3 separate regions of the Homo sapiens genome follow, and all the other regions are linked to region 1. The links are contacts of gene promoters, found by promoter capture Hi-C in human tissues and cell types (Jung and others, 2019). All regions are on one chromosome and are shown on one strand. Each heading gives the region's core, a stretch centred on a gene start or on the middle of the fragment in contact. The rest is flanking DNA. Distances are from core to core; before and after follow the strand shown. Region 1 holds the start of MST1R (macrophage stimulating 1 receptor). Region 2 overlaps RBM6 (RNA binding motif protein 6). Region 3 overlaps RBM6 (RNA binding motif protein 6).

Region 1 (2,775 bases), core at 90-2,589:
TTACAGGCGTGAGCCACCACGCCCGGTCACATATTTTATTTTAAAAACATTTTTAGCAGTTTTTTTGTTTTGTTGAGTTTTGTTATGTTGCCCAGGCTGGTCTTGAACTCCTAACCTCAAGCAATCCTCCTGCCTTGGCCCCTCAAAGGAGTGCTAGGATTACAGGCATGAGCCACGGTGCCCAGCCCAGAACTACATTCTCATTGAAGAGAATAAGATCCAGCAAGGCCTACAGAGCATGTTGGAAGTGTCCTGAGAGCCAAAGCCCATGATTCCTCCATATCAGGGGGGCACTGGGTAGAGCCAGGAAGGAAGGGGGAGTCCCCAAGGCCCATACTGTGGACCCCATTATACAGCTTCCATATACTGAGGCTGCAGAGGAGGTATGGGCCTCCACTTACGTGCCTCTCTGACTCTGAGGTCCAGTCAGCAAGGCCAGATCCCATCCTAAGACCCTTATGGCCCTGGGAGAGCAGGGCATAACACACCTTCCTCTGACACCATCTTGTCGCTGATAGCTCAGGAGAAGCACATGGAAGAATGGTCCCGGCCGGGCGCGGTGGCTTACGCCTGTAATCCCAACAGTTTGGGAGGCTGAGGCGGGCGGATCACCTGAGGTCAGGAGTTTGAGACCAGCCTGGCCAACACTGTGAATCCTGTCTCTACTAAAAATACAAAATTAGCCGGGTGTGGTGGTGCGCGCCTGTAATCCCAGCTATTCAGGAGGTTGAGACAGGAGGAGGTTGAGGCTGGAGAATCGCTTGAACCTGGGAGGCGGAGTTTGCAGTGAGCCGAGATCGCGCCACTGCAATCCAGCTTGGGCCACAGAGCAAGACTCCTTCTCAAAAAAAAAAAAGGACAGTCCTTTCCCACAAAGGGTGGCGCCCCATAACATCTCTTGTAAGTGCCCCACATCTCCCCTCTGGTCTTCCACACAATCCTGGTCTCTGTTCTCCACATGGTGGGCCCCCAGGCCACCTCTGGGCACCAGCCACTGAGGGTGTTGCTACTAAGTGCAAACTAGTTCCACCGCAAGCAAAGAGCCCAGTGTCCTGCCCCCCTTCTCGCTGCGAACCAGTCGGTAGTGGGGGGATGGGATGGGACGGCTCAGACTGGCTCACCTCTCTCCAGGCCACACCATGCACATCCACCCACAGGCCGCTGAGAAAAAGGCGCCAAGACGCCAGGTGAAGGTACAGGAGCCAGGCCTCCAAGGGCCGGAAGAGTCGGATGGGCGGAGGGCCTGGGCTAGGCCAAGCCTTCCTCGCGGCCCCGCCCCCACGGCCCGACTCCGCCCGCCCAGCCCGGCGCCCTCGGGTCGGCTGAGCGCTAAGCGCCAGTGTACAGCGGCGGCTGGGGCGGCAGGTGAGGCGGCTGGGGCGTTGCTGTCGTGCGTCCGCAGGCGTCAGGTGCTCAGACCCGAGGGCCGGGAAGGGATTTGGGTTTCACAGGAACCTGGGGCGGGGGTCCGCTATCTTGGGGCTGTCGGGACCGCTGCTTAAATTTGGCCCAGTCCAGACCTCGAGTCGGGCCCCCAGCCAGGCCCACGCCCAGGTCCAGGCCCAGGCCGGTAGGGATCCTCTAGGGTCCCAGCTCGCCTCGATGGAGCTCCTCCCGCCGCTGCCTCAGTCCTTCCTGTTGCTGCTGCTGTTGCCTGCCAAGCCCGCGGCGGGCGAGGACTGGCAGTGCCCGCGCACCCCCTACGCGGCCTCTCGCGACTTTGACGTGAAGTACGTGGTGCCCAGCTTCTCCGCCGGAGGCCTGGTACAGGCCATGGTGACCTACGAGGGCGACAGAAATGAGAGTGCTGTGTTTGTAGCCATACGCAATCGCCTGCATGTGCTTGGGCCTGACCTGAAGTCTGTCCAGAGCCTGGCCACGGGCCCTGCTGGAGACCCTGGCTGCCAGACGTGTGCAGCCTGTGGCCCAGGACCCCACGGCCCTCCCGGTGACACAGACACAAAGGTGCTGGTGCTGGATCCCGCGCTGCCTGCGCTGGTCAGTTGTGGCTCCAGCCTGCAGGGCCGCTGCTTCCTGCATGACCTAGAGCCCCAAGGGACAGCCGTGCATCTGGCAGCGCCAGCCTGCCTCTTCTCAGCCCACCATAACCGGCCCGATGACTGCCCCGACTGTGTGGCCAGCCCATTGGGCACCCGTGTAACTGTGGTTGAGCAAGGCCAGGCCTCCTATTTCTACGTGGCATCCTCACTGGACGCAGCCGTGGCTGCCAGCTTCAGCCCACGCTCAGTGTCTATCAGGCGTCTCAAGGCTGACGCCTCGGGATTCGCACCGGGCTTTGTGGCGTTGTCAGTGCTGCCCAAGCATCTTGTCTCCTACAGTATTGAATACGTGCACAGCTTCCACACGGGAGCCTTCGTATACTTCCTGACTGTACAGCCGGCCAGCGTGACAGATGATCCTAGTGCCCTGCACACACGCCTGGCACGGCTTAGCGCCACTGAGCCAGAGTTGGGTGACTATCGGGAGCTGGTCCTCGACTGCAGATTTGCTCCAAAACGCAGGCGCCGGGGGGCCCCAGAAGGCGGACAGCCCTACCCTGTGCTGCGGGTGGCCCACTCCGCTCCAGTGGGTGCCCAACTTGCCACTGAGCTGAGCATCGCCGAGGGCCAGGAAGTACTATTTGGGGTCTTTGTGACTGGCAAGGATGGTGGTCCTGGCGTGGGCCCCAACTCTGTCGTCTGTGCCTTCCCCATTGACCTGCTGGACACACTAATTGATGAGGGTGTGGAGCGCTGTTGTGAATCCCCAGTCCAT
Region 2 (2,845 bases), core at 44-2,543, 64 kb before region 1:
AGATTTACATTCCTACATTCCACTCCTGAATACAAATTTTGCTTTCTAATGGTTATGCAAAGATAAAAATAAAATGAAAAAAAAAAAAAAAAACTGGCCAGGCACGGTGGCTCATGCCTGTAATTCCAGCACTTTGGGAGGCCGAGGTGGGCGGATCACGAGGTCAGGAGTTCGAGACCAGCCTGGCCAACATGGTGAAACCCCATCTGCACTAAAAATACAAAAATTAACTGGGCATGGTGGCACATGCCTGCAATCCCTGCTACTCAGGAGGTTGAGGCAGGAAAATTGCTTGACCCTGGGAGGCGGAGGTTGCAGTGAGCTGAGATTATGTCACTGCACTCTAGCCTGGGTGACAGAGCAAGACTCCGTTTCAAAAATAAATAAATAAATAAATAAATAAATGTCATCCTTCACAAAAGTCTTATTTAAAGAAAAAAAAAAAAAGCAGGCCGGGCGCGGTGGCTCACACCAGGCGTGGTGGTGGGCGCCTGTAGTCAGTCCCAGCTACTCAGGAGGCTGAGGCAGGAGAATGGCATGAACCCAGGAGGCGGAGCTTGCATGAGCAGAGATCGCACCACTGCACTCCAGGCTGGGCAACAGAGCGAGACTCCGTCTCAAAAAAAAAAAAAAAAAAAAAAAAAAAAGCAATCCACCCCATCAACATACCTGAAGGTCCCGTTGGGCATCTCGGGCAGTTTTGCCCTCTGGAAAAGACTTGCTCTGGCCATAGCCAAACATCTGGCTTCCTGGCAGCCTATGATCCACATCACGGTACTCCATGCTTCTGTAATCGGTGTCTTGCCGCCCAAGAAAGTCCAGACCGCCTTCTTCTTTAAACAGACCAGCATCTGAACTCTGCTCTTCACGTCCAGAAAGCTGTGACTTATCTTGGTCTTGAACTGGACTTTGGCTGTTCTGAAAGTCTGCTGGAGACTCATGTTCAAAGGCTACACCTTGTGTTTCTCCTTCTCTTGTTTCTGAATGCTCAAATTCTCCCTTCTGAATGCCAAAAGCAGGCCTTTCTATCGTATGGTCATGTGTGGATTCTTCTCTCCTGTTCACATTCATACCAGAATGTTCTCTATCTTGTGTAGAGGGCTGAATGTAATCCAAAATATTTGGATCCACAGGGGGCATCTCCCTATCTTTAAATTCCATACAAGATCCCATCTCTCTGCCCCTAAAATCCTGATCAGTCCTAGATCGGTGTCTACCTCTGAAATCTGAATGTGGCGTATCCCTGTCCCTAAAGTCTAGATCAGTAGTACCTGAACCTCGGCCTCTAAAGTCTACTTGTGTTCCGTCTTTGTCTCTAAAGTCCAAATCAGATACATCTCTATTCCTAAAATCAGAACGGGACTGTTCTCTGGCCCTAAAATCCAAATCTGATAAATCCCTTCCCCTAAAATCTGCATGGGATCCATCCCGGCCTCTAAAATCTAAATCATAAGTGCCCCGGCCCCTGAAGTCAGATGGAGGAGCATCCCTACCTCTGAAGTCAACAGCGTGAGCATCCCTGTCTCTGTAGTTCATATGAGGTGCCTCCCTACCTCTATAATCCATAGAAGTACCATCTCCACCCCTATAGTCCATAGGTGGTCCTTCTCTATCCCGAAAATCCCCAGAATGTATGTCCCTACCCCTGAAGTCCAACTGTGATGAATCTCTGCTCTGGAAATCAGAAGACGAAAAATCTCCCCCCCTGAAATCATGTCCAGGTCCCTCCCCTCCTCGATAGTCACCATGCGGTCCGTCTCTAGCTCCATAGCTGAAAGAATGCTCCTCTACATTTGCAAAAGGAGGCCCCGAATGCCCCTGGAAATCAAAGGGAAGTGAATCTCTGCCAGGAAAGTTGCCAGAGTGTCTCTCTTGAGCATGACTCTTAAGGGGAGGAGGAGGATAATCCCTGTTCCACCCGGGAGCAAACCTTTCTTCTTGGCTCCCACTGTAGAAACAAAGACAGTGTTATTCATATTGTCCAGAGAGTTTGAAATCTACACACCAGCATATTCTTCTCTAATCACAGCACATTCTTCTGTAAACATTTTTTTTTTGGCAGAGTTCTGTAACAAGGTCCTAGATCTGCAGAAAACAGCAAAGTTTTGCTATTTTAAGACGAAGTGGCGGAGTAAACTTTTATGCTCCCATTTCAGAACACGAGGAAAGTCAACACAAGGTTTTCAACATGACTGCTGCAGAAAAAGCTTTCACCCAGTCCTGCAACAGGGAAAATCCGCAATACCAAATAAGCTAACAATGGTGACATACTACAAAAATTTCCATTTCCTACAGCCAGGGAACTTAAGAATTCCAAGGTCAACATGACGATTCCTATATATCAGAAAAATCAATGCACTGTAAATTTCTTACAGTAAGTTTCAGGAGGTATCTTTCTCACGCTGCATCCAGCGGTAACATTCAAAAATATTTTATTACAGATACAGCATGGACACCACCCAATCAAAATGGATGCAGGCCCAAAAAGAAGAAACACTGGTTGTAAATCACCAGTAGGAACAAGCACACCAGTGTTCACCAGCTGAGCATCAGCCCTGGCTGCATCTAAATCCCAGTTCTACAGTGGCTCCACCAAGAAGCACTCTAACCTGGGTCCTATTATAACTACCCAAGGGTATCACAGAAGGTAGAAGGTAGTATGAATCATGCCACAAAGCATGTATAAGTCATCTAAGCCACGCAACAGCATCCAGGGGCTCAATGCTGAGATAGACCTAGAGAGAGCATTAGGTCTTCAAGCATGATCCCCATGACCCAAATGAAGAAGCTGATATTCCATATTCCAATGTCTCATGCTACTTTTTCATGGCAATAAAATACATTT
Region 3 (2,979 bases), core at 114-2,613, 98 kb before region 1:
TGCTGCAGAGCATCCTACTGTTTAACAGCTTGATCTAGGCACCAGGAAAAGGCTAGAGGGACCTTGGTTATCATCTTGAGCAACTTCACGAAGGCACACATACCCAACAATATTTGACAAAGCAAGCTAGCAGAAAATTCCTTTATTTCCATCCCCTAGGCCTACAAGTACCAGCCAATGATAAATAAAAGACATTTCACATCAAGAGTCGGAATAGCAAAGAGTTACAAAAAAACTCAAAGTACTTCGGAGTAACCTTCTCAGAGGCACACACACACTCAGGCTCTACTAAGAGTTGCCAAGCAGATCGTGGTGACTCAGAATCCATACCAATTTGGTCTGTAAGTAAAACTGGGGGAAAGGATAGACAAAGACTTTTTTTTTTTTTTTTTTTTTTTTAAATTTAGACAGGGTCTCACTATTTACCCCATGCTCATTTCAAACTCCTGGGCTCAAGTGATCCTCCAGCCTTGGTCTCCCAAAGTGGTGGGATTATAAGCTTGAGCCATAGTGCCCGGCCTACAAACACATTTTATCTTCCACAAATATTTATTTTATTTATTTATTTATTTATTCAATTTTATTGTTTTCTTGAGACAGAGTCTTGCTCTGTCAGCAGGCTGGAGTGCAGTGGTGCAATCTTGGCTCACTGCAACCTCCACCTCCTGGGTTCAAGCAATTATCCTGCCCCAGCCTCCCAAGTAGCTGGGACTACAGGCGTGCGCCACCACACCTGGCTAATTTTTTTGTATTTTAGTAGAGACGGGGTTTCACCTTGTTGGTCAGGATGGTCTTGCTCTCCTGACCTCATGATCCGCTCGCCTCAGCCTCCCAAAATATTTACTTTATTCACCCTGAGGAGACAGGACTTCTTCCCTCACATTCTTATGTCTCTCATAAGATTGTTTACTATGTCATAAGGAGTTTAATCCACATCCATTTCCTTAAAGAATTAGTTTTATTAAACTTCAGATATAAAAATAAATTTATTTTCTTATAATTATAATTGAAGGCCAGGCACGGTGACTCGTGCGTGTCATCCCAGCACTTTGGGAGGCCAAGGTGGGCAGATCACCTAAGGTCTGCAGTTCAAGACCAGCCTGGCCAACATAGTGAAACCCCATCTCTACTAATAATACAAAAATTGGCAGGACATGGTGGCTCACGCCTGCAGTCCCAGCACTTTGGGAGGCCAAGGCAGTCGGATCACCTGAGGTCAGGAGTTCCAGACCAGCCTGGCAAACATGGTGAAACCCCATCTCTACTAAAAATACAAAAATTAGCCAGGTGTGGTGGCGGGCACCTGTAATCCCAGCTATTTGGGAGGCTGAGGCAGGAGAATCACTTGAACCCAGGAGGTAGAGGTTGCAATGAGCTGAGATCGTGCCACCGCACTCCAGCCTGGGCAACAGAGCGAGACTCCATCTCAAAAAAAAAAAAAAAGAAAAAAAATTTACCCAAGCATGGTGGCGCATATCTGTAGTCCCAGCTACCTGGGAGGCTGAGACAGGAGGATCTCTGGAACCCGGGTGGCGGAGGTTGCAGTGAGCCAAGATTACGCCACTGCACTCCAGCCTGGCTGGACTCCGTCTCACACACACACACAAAATTTATAATTGGAAATTACTTGACATGTGGAGGAGGGTAAGAGAGAGAAAGAAGGACACTGAATTTCAAATTAATTCAAATGCTACCAAGTGCTAGGTACTATAGTAAGTGTTCTGGATACATTATTCGCCAAGAGTCACAACTTAAATGTATGTCACTCCTCAAGAAGTTTCCCTGACCACCCCTCTAAAATTGCCACCATGATGCATTCTCCCAATACCCTGCTTCATTTTCTTTATAGCACTCAGCTATCAGCTATTACATTGAGTATTTAGCACAGAGGCGAACGACTTAATCACATTCACTGCTTATGAATTAATGAGTGTTCTCAAAATTGGACAGACTGTCAGAATAGGATCCACCGAAAGCACACAGATTGGAAGCTTTTTTCTTCTCTCCAAAATTGGCATGTAGCAGTTTCTGACACATGGTTAGTACAGTTGTCCCTTGGTGTCCACAGGGGATTGGTTCCAGGACCCACAAGGACACAAAAATCTCAGGATGCTCAAGTCCCTTATATAAAATCACATGGTATTTGCATACAACCTACACACATCCTCCAACATACTTTAAACCATCTCTAGATTACTTATATCTAATACCTAATAAAGACTATATAAATAGTTAACTGTACTTTTTTGTTTTTTGAGACGGGGTCTCACTCTGTCACCCCAGGCTAGAGTGCAGCAGAGTGATCACAGCTCACTGCAGTCTCAATCCAGACTCAAGTAATCCTCTCATCTTAGCCTCCCAAGTTGATAGCCACCACACTTGGCTAATTTTTTCACTTTTATTTTTTGTAGAGATGGGGTCTCCCTGTGTTGCCCAGGCTGGTCTCAAACTCCTGGCCTCAAGCAATCCTCCCACCCGGGCCTCCCAAAATGTTGGGATTACAGAGTAAGCCACCACTCCTGGCCTGTATTATTTTTTATTGTTGCAGTGTTAATGCATTTTTTTCCTGAATATGTCCAATCAGCATTTGGTTGAATCTATGGGTGTGGAACCTGTGGATACAGAGTGTCAACTGTATTTGGTAAGTGATTCAGTGATGGACACTGAACAAATGGTCAATGAGAATCCTCTTAAGTCTAGGGGATATGGTCCTAAGCCTGTCATTCTTTAAGGATCTGACAAGCTTAAACTACTAACAAGATAAGGATACATCAAAAGTCTTCTCTAATGAGTGCTTGCTCCCAAAGCATTTAGAGCATGTCATCTCCATACCCATAAGAGGAGAACTTGGCCAAGAAGAGAAAAGTACGTATAATGAGCCACACTGAGTTAAACAAAGCTGAACAAAGCATCAGGCTACAGAAGAAGAAGAGTTCTCATCTAATAACTACTCTTCTCTGGCAGAGCCTTCTTTTAAGA

What was found. The method cuts DNA at HindIII sites, captures the fragments that hold promoters and counts their contacts. A contact is called where the count stands out against the background at its distance.
Region 2: a contact is called between a fragment that was not itself captured here and the fragment with the promoter of MST1R in region 1, in 3 of the 25 tissues and cell types used here (lymphoblastoid cells, spleen and thymus).
Region 3: a fragment that was not itself captured here is called in contact with the fragment with the promoter of MST1R in region 1 in 5 of the 25 tissues and cell types used here (bladder, lymphoblastoid cells, mesenchymal stem cells and 2 more).

The regions. Positions count from the first base shown.
Region 1 is chr3:49,902,437-49,905,211 of GRCh38, reverse strand. MST1R (macrophage stimulating 1 receptor) reads left to right here and starts at 1,339. Exons shown (of 20, transcript NM_002447.4): 1 at 1,339-2,775. The coding sequence starts at 1,603. RefSeq lists enhancers at 294-966, 955-1,004, 1,641-2,314, 2,315-2,775 and a silencer at 1,195-1,414. The HindIII fragment of the contact is 20,801 bases long and covers 1-2,775 here.
Region 2 is chr3:49,966,573-49,969,417 of GRCh38, reverse strand. RBM6 (RNA binding motif protein 6) reads right to left here. Exons shown (of 21, transcript NM_005777.3): 3 at 670-1,948. Among named protein-coding and RNA genes, the nearest start is that of RBM6, 28 kb to the right of the region's middle. The HindIII fragment of the contact is 6,700 bases long and covers 1-2,845 here.
Region 3 is chr3:50,000,729-50,003,707 of GRCh38, reverse strand. All of the region lies in intron 6 of RBM6 (RNA binding motif protein 6), which reads right to left. Among named protein-coding and RNA genes, the nearest start is that of RBM6, 62 kb to the right of the region's middle. The HindIII fragment of the contact is 4,044 bases long and covers 1-2,979 here.